Regions from separate parts of the Homo sapiens genome. Here regions 1 and 2 are each linked to region 3. Evidence: promoter capture Hi-C in human tissues and cell types (Jung and others, 2019). All regions are on one chromosome and are shown on one strand. Each heading gives the region's core, a stretch centred on a gene start or on the middle of the fragment in contact. The rest is flanking DNA. Distances are from core to core; before and after follow the strand shown.

Region 1 (4,269 bases), core at 1,153-3,652, 190 kb before region 3:
AAGGATGTGGAGAAAACAGAACCCCATGCACTATGGGTGGGAATGTGTAATAGTGCAGCCACTGCAGAAACAATACGGTGGTTACGCAGAATATCAAAAATAGAATCATCACATGACCCAGCAATTCCACTTCCGTGTATATCCCCAAAAGAAGTGAAAGCAGGAACCCAAACAGATATTTGTACACCCAGGTTTATAGCAGCATTACTTGCATCTCCAAAAGGTGGAAACAACCCACGTGTCCACGGGCAGGTGAAAGGATGAGCAAAATGTGGCCCATCTATACACAACAGAGTATCATTCAGCCATAGGAAGGAAGCAGAGTCTGACATGCACTACAGCATGGGTCAACCATGGGCACACTATGCTGGGCAAAATAAACCAGACACAAAAAGACCCTGTCTCTACAAAAAAAAAGTTTTTAAAAATGGCTAAGATGGTAAATTTCTTATGATGTGTGTTTTACCACAATTAAAAAAAAAAAAAGAATATTAGTGGAACAACTGGGAAAAAAATTACAGCAGCATTGTTGGTAAGAAGGAAACCTAACTGCCCGTCCCAGGAGAACAGACAAACAGCTCGGCTCCCAGGCAGGCACTGAGGCAGTGACAGTGACCACATGTGGGTCGTCCCAGAAGCACAGCTTGGGTGAAAGCACACTGACGACTACATACACGTGGCGTGTTTCCGTGAAGTTTGGAAACAGGCGCAACGAAGCGATCTGCTGAGTCAGGACACAGAAGAGACCAAACTAGAAAGAAACATGCTGGCGAAGGGCAGACACAGACTCCCTGCCCCATCACTGAGGTGGGGCCAGGGCAGTGGTGAGGGAAGGCAGGGCTGCGGCCTCAGTGGGGCCTCTTTTTCTACACACAGCTGCAGCCGTCTCTTCTCTTTTCCATCGAGTTCTTAAAGGGTGACCAGCAGGCGGCGCTGGCACAAAGGAGAAGGCCTTCCTGACTGTGTCCAGGGCGCCAGCCACAGGGAAAGGCCTGAGGAAGAGGGCAGGGTCCCCTCTGCACCCAGGTCTCTGCCCTGTGTCTGAAGGAGATATTGGCAGGGGCAGGAGAGCTGGTCAACGTGAAGGCCCCAAGCTCAGTAGGTACCCACAGGCCTCAATGCTCAATTCAATGTTAATCCCTGCTCCTCCTTCTCCAGCTGGTGTGGGGAGAGTCCGCTGGAGAATCTTGGAACACTTCGACAGAAGGCTGCCTCCCCACGTTCCAAGTGCACCTCCTGCCTATCTGATGGAAGTGGTGGGAGGGTGTGGATCCCGAGTCTCCTTCCAGTGGCACAGGCTCTGCACCCAGGAAATGGGGCAAAGGGGTGTGGGAGGGGAGGGGCACTGACTCAGCCACCGCAGAACAGGGCCGCCTGCCACAGTGGAGCTACTGGAGACACAGAGTGTCTTCCACTAAGACAATCTGTGGAATCAATCCGTGCACACAGATCAGTCTATGCACGGCCCGACATTTGACCCGAACGGGCTGTCTGGGAGATGTGTGAAGCCTCACCTCCACACAGCTGTTGACTTCCTCTCCCGTGAGTCTGGACTGCACAGCTTTCTCAAGTGGCTCTGTGGCAAGCTGCACTGCGTGCTGAATCCGTTCGAGCATCTGCTTTTTATCGGGATCCGTGGTCTCATTTAATTTTACTGAAAATGGCTGCAACCATAAAGAGACGTCAAATCTATTAGATACTGCTCAGCAAAACCTAAATTCATAAAGGTGATTCCAGGTAGAAAACAGAACGGTTTTTCCCATGGCCCCATAGAGATAGAGAAGTGTGCAACCCAAGTGGCCAGGCAGTAAGGAACTAAGAGAGACTGAAGCTCCCGGCTCAGGAGCTCCTGGTTCTGCCCTCTCACGTGTGACCCTGGACAGGGCACCTAACCTCTCTGTGCCTCAGTTTCTCCAATGCAAATTGGGTGTGAGAGCAGTATTTCTAGGGCTGTTCTGGGGATGAGGAAAAGTAGGCCACCCAGTGTGTTCTGAGGTGTGCTGCAGACACATCCATCAGGAAGGTACTCAGGCCTCACTGACCTAAAAGATTGCTCAGCTCTAATTTTATTCCTGTTTTTAATTCCAGAGATAAAATGCCATAAGCATATCCATAATGATTACTGTAATTACTAAGGATAATTAGTAGAGAGTAAAATGACCTATTCTTACTATTGTAATAAAAATAAGTATATAACGATGGTTATTCAGAATGAAAATACTAGAGAGAACTAATTTCTTCAAAAGATTCTGAAAATTTACAGTATTACCAAATTAAAAAGCTTAGTATAGCTTTTGTATCTTGGGCAGAAGTTTCTGATTTAGTTGTAACCTTGGCATTGAAAATTAGACAGCAATATTGGTAAGCATTTTTATAAGTGTAATTAGTGGCACTGTGATGAATTCAGTTGTTTTCCTGTAAGTGGCAGGAATGTCACCTACTCTCCACTCCACTCCAGTACATCTTTGCTGGTGACTTTGTCACAGGCCAGGGGACCTTACCTATGGAGACTTCAGCGCCCCTGACGGAACTGGCTTGAGTAACATACACTTTGTGAAAGCCTGTGAGACTGACACTACCCTAGGGACAGTAGCCTACAAAGGACCGAGAACAGAAAGCAAAGGGCTCGGTTTCTAGAGCAGACAGCAAGAGGCCCACCTTCAGGGCGGCCTGAACATCCTCCAAGAGCTGTGCCGCTTCAGGCCTCTTCTCCCGATACTGCTCGAACAGGTGGTTCTGCCGGGCCCTCTTGATGATCTGGGGAGGGAAGGCAGACATTGGGGAGTGATGCTTGGATCCCACATGCATCCCTCTGCAGCAGGCCACTCTCTCCCTTGGCCAACTCTAAGTGAGGGTGAGGGTGGTGGGAGACAACTGTGGGCCCCGGACGTGCACACCATCATCAAATAGAAACACCACCCTCCATCTCCCACCTGCCAAGTAGTGCCCAAGGCCTAACATGATCTTTCTGACGCTTAATGAAATGAGCCCTGGGGGCCCCAGCTTCCCCTGCAAGCCACATGTCGAAGTGCGTGCTGTGGGAGGCCTTCCTTCTGCAAAACACCCAGGGCTACCGACCCCTGAGCAACATGCAGGTTTCTAACCGTGTCTGAACATCATAGAAATGATCATATCAGTAGCAGAAGTGGTAATATTAACTCACTGAGGGGATTAAAATGATGTTTATCAGGTGAAAACACAAGCTAGCTCAAGCCTACATTATTTACTTATGCGAAAGTTCTATCTTCTTTTACACCATCCAATTGCATTTAAAATTTAATCTTACAAATTCCCTTTACCTTGTCATCAATATCCGTAATGTTCATGCAATAAAAGACATCAAATTTGAAGTAATCCTTCAACACTCTTCTCAAGATATCAAAAGAGATGTAGGACCTAAAGCAATGAAAAAACAAACATTTCCACACCAGACGATATGTATAGCTTAACCTCCAACAACACGTGTTTGAACTGCATGAGTGCATTTATATATGATTTTCTCTGCCATCCCTGAAACAGCAAGACCCCCCCTTCTCCTCCTCAGTCTACTCAACGTGAAGATGGCAAGGATGATGACCTTTATAATGATCCACTTCCACCTAATGAATAGTAAATATATTGCCTCTCCCTTATGATTTTCTTCATAATATTTTCTTTTCTCTGGCTTCCTTTATCATTAGGAATACAGTATGTAATGTATATACAAAATATGTGTTCATTGACTGGCATGCTATTGGTCAACAGGAGGCTATTTTAGTGGTGAAGTTTTTGGGGAATCAAAAGTTATGTGTGGATTTTCAACTGTGCAGAGGGTCACACCCTCTACCCTCCAGGTTGTTCAAGGGTTGACTATACATGACCTTGGCACTGCAACTAAAACATGAACACATAAAAGGACTCTGTGGCATTTACCCCAACAGCCAGCTACTCGTCAGGAGCTACAGCCATGACCATCCAGTGGTCGGGGGGCGGTCACAGCCAACCCAGCGTCAGGCCTGTCAGGTCTGAGTGTCACGGGAACTCAGCATCTGGGGACCCCACGAGAGCTTGAGGGATGAGAGAAAACTTTAAGGTATGTGAGAAAAAGTGCCCAGGTCGAGTCCAGCATGTTAGCAGTGGGGCTATGGACATTTTCTTTTTGGTGATCTGTAGTCTTTCTGCAGTGAATATAGATTACTTATGGCATTAAAATTTTCATCTTAAAAATAAGAGAAGAAATTCAGTCTTGATTCCTCAAATCTCAGGTCTCTGTAGCAGATCTAAGATCTT
Region 2 (4,358 bases), core at 1,609-4,108, 170 kb after region 3:
TTTTGTTGTTGTTACATCATTGGTGTCTTTTTTCTTTTTTTTTTTTGAGACAGAGTCTCTGTCGCCCAGGCTGGGGTGCACTGGTGTGATCTGGGCTCACTGCAACCTCCGCCTCTCACATTCAAGCAATTCTCATGCCTTAGCCTCCCGAGTAGCTGGGACTACAGGGGCCCACCACACCCAGCTAATTTTTGTATTTTTAGTACAAACAGGGTTTCATCATGTTGGCCAGGCTGGTCTTGAACTCCTGACCTCAGGTGATCCACCCACCTTGGCCTCCCAATATGCTCGAATTATAGGCACGAACCACTGTGCCTGGCCATGTCATTGGTGCCTTAACCAAGCCTCTTTTAATTTTTCAAACGGAAGAACCCCTGTCCCACAGTTACTGCTGCTGAGCCCTTTCAAGGTGACTCTGAGGACGGAGAAAAGCGGAAGTGGTGTGGGAAGAGGCGGGGTCTGGGCCAGCTGCTGGTCCTGCTCTCCTCCCTCCTCTGGCCACTAGGCTCCCAGGAGTGGTTTGGAGCCCACGCCATGTGCTCTGGGGGCTGTGGCAGGGCAGGGGCGGTTTGGAACCTGCGCCATGTGCTCTGGGGGCTGTGGCAGGGCAGGGGGAGTCCTCGTGTCCCCTGTGCACAACACAGACAGAAGGCTGGGTCCACCCAGTGGGCGGTCGACTGCCAGGCCAGTGCTTACCCCGCCATGTTTGCAGCCCGAGGCCAGCTGGCTGCAAATGCAGGGCTGTGCGTCAGGGGTCAGAGTGCACACACCCCTGCAGGTCTAGGGGCTCCTGCGTTGCTTCTGGAAGGGCCTGGATGGGACCTGACTGGAGCGGCCGAGGGGTGGAGCTTCTGGGAAAGGGATCCCTCCTCGGGGGGAGTGTCTTGGGCCTGAGGCCAATTGGCAGGGACAGAGACGAGTCCATGGCAGTATCTGCTCTTCTCTGTGAAGGCAAAGGGCCTCCGAGGGAGTATTACAGCCGCCTCATCCACCAGAAGCATTTCCAGCACATCCAGGTCTGCACCCCTTGGCTGGAGGCCGAGGACTACCCCCGCTTCTAGGTGAGAGGCCAGCAGGAGGCTCAGGGAGGAGGCGGGGCCTTAAGCAGGGGGAACAGGGGTGGGCGGGATGTACTTTTTCTGAAAATGTGGCTCTGGAGGCCACTTGGGGACAGGACCTGGGCTCTGGCTGAACTCCCGGGAGGAGGCTACTTCCTGGTGTGCCAGCCCCTCCCTGCCAGGTGGCCCCAGAGGCCCTTTACCAAGGGGTTTGAGGAGGCCACGTCCTTTCAGCCTTCCGCGCCCTCCATTCAGTCCTCTTCCTTCCTGCAGGAGGGCTGGGCCTGGGGTTGGGGCCACTGTTGCCCAGGTGTGGGAGGGCAGTGGCTTTGGGAGGTACAGGGACGATGTGTGAAACAGCGTCGCCTCTCCCAGTGAGATGGTTCTCCTTTGCCTCCGTCTCTTTCCCCGTTGACTTCTCCAAGTGGGGAGTCGTGGCTTGGTCCTGATGCGTCTCTAGAGCCACATCTTCCAGCTTCGAGTGAGCAGAGCAGTTGGAGGCTGAGGGCCTTTTCCTGGCAGGACTCTCCAGTTAGTCTTTGTTTTAGACAGTCTCGCTCCGTTGCCTAGGCTGGAGTGCACGATCTCAGTTCATGCAACCTCCGCCTCCTGGGTTCAAGCGATTCTCCCACCTCAGCCTCCCGAGTAGATTACGGGATTACAGGAGCCCGCCACAACACCTGGTTTATTTTTGTATTTTTAGTAGAAACAGGGTTTCACCGTGTTGGCCAGGCTGGTCTTGAACTCCTGACTTCAAGTGATCCTCCTGCCTTGGCCTCCCTAAGTGCTGGGATTCCAGGCGTGACCCATCACGCCTGGCCCCAGCTAGTCTTTAGAAATGTTAAGCTGTTTCACTTTATTTTCACACTGACAGCTGGTTTGTAGTGGGTGTGCTGTGGTTTTTTATTATTATTATTATTATTATTATTATTATTTTGAGACAGAGTTTCGCTCTTGTAGCCCAGGCTGGGGTGCAATGGCACGATCTTGGCTCACTGCAACCTCCGCCTTCCCAGGTTCAAGCAATTCTCCTGCCTCAGCCTCCTGAGTAGCTGGGATTACAGGCACCTGCCACGATGCTTCGCTAATTTTGTATTTTTTTTAGTAGAGATGGGGTTTCACCATGTTGGCCAGGCTGGTCTTGAACTCCTGACCTCAGGTGTTCCACCCACCTTGGCCTCACAAAATGCTGGGCTTACATGCGGGAGGTGAACCTGGGAGGTGGAGGTTGCAGTGAGCTGAGATTGTGCCACTGCACTCCAGCCTGGGTGACGGAGTGAGACTCTGTCTCAAAACAAAACAAAACAACAACAAAAAAACCAAATTGTGGTTACGTAGAAAAAGTGTCAACTTACATTTTCAGATGTCCCAGCCAGGCCATGTGGCTGCTTGGCCAGCTTAAGCCACTTGTGCTTGGGGCTGTCGGGGGACTTATCCGATTTTCACTCCCCTCGGGGGATGTTGCCTCACTGTGCTGGGAGGATTTGTGTTCCCAGGGCAGAGACCAGCGCTCTGACCGCACCCCTCTTGCCCAGCAGGGTCGGTGGATCTGGGTGTCTGTCTGCACACGTCCTGCAGTGGCCTGGACCTGCCCATGAAGGTGGTGGACATGTTCGGGTGCTGTTTGCCTGTGTGTGCCGTGAACTTCAAGTGGCAGGAGCAGAACCCGAATCTTTCTGGGGATAGCTTCACAGATCCACCGCTGAGGAGGAAACAGTGCAGAGCGAGCTGCCCACAGTGAGGCCCTGCTCCTGGGTCAGTCCAGCACACACTGGAGGCCACGAGGAGGAGCCCTGCGGTTACTGTGTCTGGGCTGAGCCTCACTGAAGTAGTTGCTTCCATTTAGAGCTCATGTTATATTTAGGTTGATACAAAAGTAATCACGGTTTTTGCCATTAAAGATGGCAATTACTTTTGCACCAACCTAATATGAAAAAAAAGCATCTTAAATACTGGAACTCCACTCGGGGCTTTTGCTCCTAGAGTAGAATTGGCGGGAATTGCCTGCAGGCTTACATGGTTTTCTTTGTTTCTTTCTCTCCCACCATGTCCTGTTTGGCCAAGCTCACGTGCTGGGTTTGAATGAGTTAAATGAGTGTCGTGCTGTGGCCTCACTGCACCCAGCGTAGACGGGCATTTGGAAGGGCGGTGTTAGAGGAGATTCTAGAAGCAGTAGCCCCAGCACAAGCTGAGCCCTTGGCCCCTGCTCAGGAGCCGGCTCCTGGATGGGAGTCAGGGATGTGAGCCCCTCGTGTGAGCTGAGCTCAGGGAATGTCGGGATCAAACCTGGTGCCCTAGAAAAGTCATCTTTTATGTGCTGAGCCAGTCCCCAGGGTGTTGCCTTTACTTGTTCCATGGCCATGGAATTAAGCAAAACATGCAAAAATAATTCTTCAGTCCTTGAAGAGCATCCAGCACAGAAGGTAGAAACCCTCCTTAAGGCTCCCTCCTCAAATCGGTTTGGCCATTTCGATGTGCACCCCCCCAGGCCTTTATACCCTTCAGATGCCAAATCTAAGAACCAGCTCCCAGAAACCACACCCCCTGTTCCAACCCCCAGCCTGGCTTGAGCATGGGTTGTTGGGGGGAGCCCAGGTGGGCACCCCAGGGGTCTGGTGTCTTCTCCAGGCAGCTCTCAGGCTCCCTTGGTTCTCTCTGCAGTTTACATGAGCTGGTGAAACATGAAGAAAATGGCCTGGTCTTTGAGGACTCAGAGGAACTGGCAGCTCAGCTGCAGGTAGCCACATCTGCCACCACGCCAGGGTGGGGAGGGTTCTGGAGGCTGGCACCGAGCCACGCTCCCTGATCCCTGCTTCCCACAGCCAGGGTGGGACCATGTGGGGTCTGGCGGAAAAGCTAGGGAGGGAGCAGAGGTCACAGAGTCCGGCCCACTCTGCTGTCCCGTTTCGGTACAGTAAGCTCGGGAAAGTTAGGACACACCCCCACCTGCCCTCTGGATTTATGGAGCTGACATTCCACAAATGATGCTGGAGCCGGGTGGGCCGGGCTGCAGTTTAGGAAGTGATCAGGGTCAGGTAGGTGCGTGGGCAAAGGGAGCTTCTGGGACCAGCCTTGAAAGATGGGTGGAATTCTGCAAAGGTTACTTGTTTCTTATTGCTAAAAGTAATACATCATTCTTGCCAACAGAATGATTGGCAGGATTTTCAGTAAAGGTCCAGGTCAGAAGTCATTTAGACTGGGTCCCCCAGTCTCTGTCAGAACCATGGTACTCTGTTGTGGTGTGAAAGTAGCCACAGATCATCTGTCGATTAAGGGGTGTGGCTTTGTTCGAATAAAACT
Region 3 (4,697 bases), core at 1,618-4,117:
AGTGGTGTGACCACAGAGGGACAGCTTACAGTGGCTGTGGGGCTTTTCGTCATCATCTTAAAGCAGCCCTCAACTCTTTGAGGCCTTTCCTTGACATCCATGAGGGGTTGTTTGCCAGTGGGCTCCCAGTCCCCAGCCCTCCAGCTTGGTCACACCATGCAGCCACATCAGGGCCACAGGAAAACTCCCTTTCCCCTGGCCATGTCCCTGCTGTCCTACAGCAGGACTCCAGCCCTCTGCAGGGTAGGGGGCACATGAGGAGGCTGCATCCTGCTCAACGTTGCCCGCCCTTTCCCCATGGGGAGAAGAGGGAGCTGTCTGATGATGGGGCTGGGAGGGGCCCTGAGCTTCCATGGCGTCTCCAGCCTCCCTCCATCCCCTCCCAAGGCAGTCGGCTCACGGGGACAGGTCCTGCGGGAGGGGTACTGAGTCCTGGGAGGCAGCACAAATCCCAGGGGACCTAGGCTGGAATCGGAGTCTTCATCACAGCTTTGCCAGAAATACAGCAAGTAATAGACTCTAGGAGACTGCCAGGTGCTCAGAGCCGGAGACATGCCTGCAGATACCCGGCCCCATGCTGCCCCTGTGGTTACCTGGCCCGTCATGTGTCTCTGAGTGCTTGGTGACCCCAGCTTCTCCTCTTGGGGTTGGGGGAGAGGGGATGGGGCCTTGCCTCTCCCCAGAGACTGGCTGGGGTCAGGGGCCGACACCAGGTGCCCCTCCCACCTTGGTGGTGGCTGGTCCTCCTGTGTCCTGGGAGGGCTGGGGTTTGGGGTGAGGAGGGTGGGGGTACAAGCAGAAACCCCCATAGCTGGTCTTAGCGGCTTCTTCCCACCTCAAGGTTGTGCTCAGAACCCCTGCTGTCTCCCTCCAGTGATAGGAGCACCCGAGACCATGCAGGGGGACGCTGCGGTGCTGGGATGCTGGGGAGAGGTGGCCCGGGGCGGGGCTATCGCTGAGCACAGAGGTGCCAGCCACCCCGTGAGGTGCTGGTCATCTCCCTCGGCTTACACCCTCAGCTCTGTGGTCTTTTGTTTGACTGGGGTGAAATGACAGCCTGAGGTTGTCCCCGCCTCAGGGGTGGGCATGGGGGTGGGGGGCTCAGTGGAGAGGAGGCCCCAGTCCCAGCACCTCAGGAAGCTGAGTCCTGCCCGTGGTCCAGTCTGAATCTCCTGCGGGTGGAGTCAAGCCTGGTTGGAGATATAGGGCTCTTCCTCCTGTCCCTGTGCTCCATCCTAGCACCCAAGGCCCCGGGAAGGCAGACCATGGGTGGGAGGTGAGGTGGTGGTGGAGGGAGCCCCACCTGGGCCAGCATCATCAGGAGGACACCCTGAGTGGGGCAGACGGGGCATCACTGCCATGGCAGGTGGGGAGATGTGGGGAGGGGGACAGATGCTCTCCTACTCAGGATAGCTTGGGGGGGTCACCAACCCTCAGGCCCAGAGGGAGGCAGAGATGAGTTTTGGGAGGTCTTAAGTCTGTTGATGGTGGACCCCCTCCCAGGCACAAGTCCCGTCCACCCATGGACGGAGCTATCTCCGGGATCTACCAGCAAGCTCCAGCCCCAAAGCAACAGGTGGGGTTTCTCCAGCCTGTGGCCCACCAAGGGCCATGGTCCCTCTCCTATCTCACCTCCTGCATGGCTGAGGAGGACACGGGCCTCATGGGTGGGCCCCAGGGAGAGAGCATGGCAGGGAAGCGATGGACATAGAGGGAGAGGGGAGAGTGCAGGAAGGGGAGAGGCATGAAGAGATGGGGGACAGAGAAGGAAACAGGGAGGAGAACAGGGGGACAAGGGGTTAGAGCCACGGAGCTCAGCCAGACCCTGCTGCTGCCCCCTCTCTGCTGTGACCCTGGAGGAGGTCTCCCTGTGGGACCATGTGCCCCACTGGGGGCTCGGGAGGGAGGCAGAGCTCTGTAGGAAGGGTCGCCACAGTTGGGTTACAGGACTGTGGGGAGTAGAGGAGTTTGTTGCATCCTTGGTGAGCAGGAGGAAGAGGAGAGGGAGGAGAAGGAGGGGAGGAGGCGGGGGAGGACGATGGAAGAGAACAGGAGGGAGGAGGAGGAGGGGGAGGAGAAGGAGGGGAGGAGGCGGGGAAGGACGATGGAACAGAAGAGGAGGGAGGCACAGCATTCCCCATCCCTGGGTGGTCCAGGAGTGGCTCTGTGTCCCGCCCAGACAGCCAATACTGAGAAGCCCTGAGGCTGAGCACCCAGGTGTGGCAGGGAGGAGAGGGCCTATCCCCGGCTGCCCCCATGACTCCCCTTGAGAGTCTGCACCTGCAGGGAACACTCTAGATCATGGAGGAAGCAAGGCAGACAGGAGACAGAGCCACCGGGGGTGGGGGGTTGGGGAGCCATCACCCAAGCTATCGTCCTCTTCCAGACTCAGCCCAGGGCTGGCTGCGGACCAGGTGGTGCGGCCCGTCAGAGGGCGGAGGCTGCAGCCTGGAGAGCTCCCTGTTGATAGCATCTGCTGTTGCCCACGCCCCACCCCTGCCACCATCTGGCCAGCAAAAGAGCCCAGAAAATGCCGAGCGCCTGGGCCGGCCCCAGAGACCCACCCTGATCCAGCCACCTGCGCTACTCACCGTTTGGGGCAGAGGACTGGCCGAGCCCTGCCTGCTCTGACCCTGGGCCTTGGATCTATCCTGGCCGCGGCCGAGGGCTCCAGTCCCCAGAGCCTCTGGGCGGCTCCTGTTCAGTGTCCACCAGCTCCTCCGAGTCACATGGCATCCAGCTGGAATGGGGCCGGTCAGGAAGGTGTCTCTCTGAGGACCCCTTCTCTTCCGCTCAGCTCTCGCCCAGGTGTGGACAGCAAGAGAAACCCTGAACCTCCCTGCAGCCTTCCAGGCAGGCCTGGCAGGCAGAGGAAACCACGAGATCTCTGGGTGGAGCCCAGCCAAGCTGTGACTTCACTGGCACTCCTGGCTCAGAGACACCAAGCCCTGTAGGGCCCTTTAGGGACCACTTCTTTCCATCTGTGCCTCGGAGGGGCCGGCTGAGAGCCGGGCTACCGGCGGAACTTGTCCTTGCAGCAAAAATGTGTTTTTCTCTCCGCAGAGCACAGGCTGCCGGCCCCAGCTCTCCAGGCAGTGTGGGACCGCGGGGAGGAGCGGGGATGTGCGTGAGGCCGTCCCTCCTGCCTCGTTCGCAGGCACAGAGTAGATGGCCGGTGTCAAGAAGCTGCCGCGCGGTCCCCGGCCGAGGAGAATCAAACACATACAGCAGCGTCAGGCTCCGGGAGACCTCGTGAACTCAGTGATTTCAAGTCCCGTTTCAGACCGTGCCTTTCCTTCCAGTGCCCTGCCTTAAGGGAGATCGCAATTGACGTGCCAAGAGAAGGAAAACAAGGTCATTTTTTGGCCTCTGTTCCTCCCCGAGTCCAGGCCCTAGCAACTCTTTTCTCATCTTTGTCTTTAGAAAAATCTCCGAGGTAGAGAAGAGTGCAGAAACAGCACGGATTTGCTCCGGAGCGTTTCCCACTCTGCGCAGTCCGCCTGACCTCTCCTCTTGCGGACCAAGTGAGAGCAAGTTTCCCGCACGTGGCCTTTGACCTGTCACTACATCAGCAGGCATCCCCCAGGGCACCGGCATCCTCCATCCCCAAAACGGAGGGGCCGCACACAGGTCGTCTGGCGTCTGTGCAATGCTGGTGTCTGATGAATGTGTCGCGCTGGTGTCTGACGTCCATGCGGGGCTGGTATCTGACAGGCAGCAGTGCCGCTTGCTGAGTTGTGTCTCAGCTTCAAATCCTCCCTTCCTAAACCAGGATCCGAGCTGCCAGGTGCCCGAGGCTCTGTAAACCATGCCTGGGCTCTGCCACCGCTCTGGGAGGCCCTACCAGTGGGTGGTCACTCAAGGATGGCCCAGGGGTGTGGGGGAAGTGCTCCCAATCGCCCCACACGTTCCAAATATCTCACCCTTCTAAGTGCCACACTCCCTCCAGTTGTCCCACAGTTCCAATAGTGCCACTCCTTTCAATTGTCCATCCCACCCTTTCATAAGTTCCATGCCTTCCACTTGTCTTACACCTTAAAGCTGTCCCACCCTTCCAAATGCCCGACCCTTCCAATTGTCCCACTCCTTCCAACTGTCCCACTCTTCCATTTGTCCCACTCTTCCATTTGTCCCACTCCTTCCAATTGTCCCACTCTTCCAATTGTCCCACTCCTTCCAATTGTCCCACTCTTCCATTTGTCCCACTCCTTCCAATTGTCCCACTCTTCCATTTGTCCCACTCCTTCCAATTGTCCCACTCTTCCAATTGTCCCACTCCTTCCAATTGTCCCACTCTTCCATTTGTCCCACTCCTTCCAATTGTCCCACTCTTCCATTTGTCCCACTCCTTCCAGTTGTCCCACCCTCCAATTATCCCACCTTCCAATTGCATTAGCCTTCCAACTGTCCCACCCTTCCAATTTTCCCACTCTTTCCAATTGTCCCAGCCTTCCAATTGCCTCATCCTTTTAATTATCCCACTCTTTTAGTTGTCCCCCTCCTTCCAATTGCCCCATTCTTTCCAATGGTCCCACTTTTTAAATTGCCCTTCCCTTGCAATTGTCCCCCTCTTTCAATTGACCCACCTTTCCAATGGTCTTACCTTCCAATTGATCCACCTTTCCAATGGTCTCACCTTCCAGTTGTCCCACTCCTTCCAGTTGTCCCACTCCTATCAATTGTACTGCCTTCCAATT

The links. Contacts are between HindIII fragments. The study calls those that stand out against the background at their distance.
Region 1: a fragment that was not itself captured here is called in contact with the fragment with the promoter of MRGPRE in region 3 in 2 of the 25 tissues and cell types used here (adrenal gland and heart right ventricle).
Region 2: a contact is called between a fragment that was not itself captured here and the fragment with the promoter of MRGPRE in region 3, in 1 of the 25 tissues and cell types used here (pancreas).

Annotation. Positions count from the first base shown.
Region 1 is chr11:3,036,536-3,040,804 of GRCh38, forward strand. It overlaps CARS1 (cysteinyl-tRNA synthetase 1), which reads right to left. Exons shown (of 23, transcript NM_001014437.3): 5 at 3,300-3,396; 6 at 2,659-2,757; 7 at 1,515-1,664. CARS1-AS1 (CARS1 antisense RNA 1) reads left to right here. Exons shown (of 2, transcript NR_046580.1): 2 at 4,245-4,269. Among named protein-coding and RNA genes, the nearest start is that of CARS1-AS1, 9.3 kb to the left of the region's middle. RefSeq lists an enhancer at 3,516-4,269. The HindIII fragment of the contact is 5,188 bases long and covers 1-4,269 here.
Region 2 is chr11:3,403,903-3,408,260 of GRCh38, forward strand. It overlaps the pseudogene TSSC2 and the pseudogene FAM86GP. Among named protein-coding and RNA genes, the nearest start is that of ZNF195, 27 kb to the left of the region's middle. RefSeq lists enhancers at 103-937, 938-1,771, 2,129-2,642, 2,643-3,154. The HindIII fragment of the contact is 7,437 bases long and covers 1-4,358 here.
Region 3 is chr11:3,229,550-3,234,246 of GRCh38, forward strand. MRGPRE (MAS related GPR family member E) reads right to left here and starts at 2,868. Exons shown (of 2, transcript NM_001039165.4): 1 at 2,592-2,868. The HindIII fragment of the contact is 8,659 bases long and covers 1-4,697 here.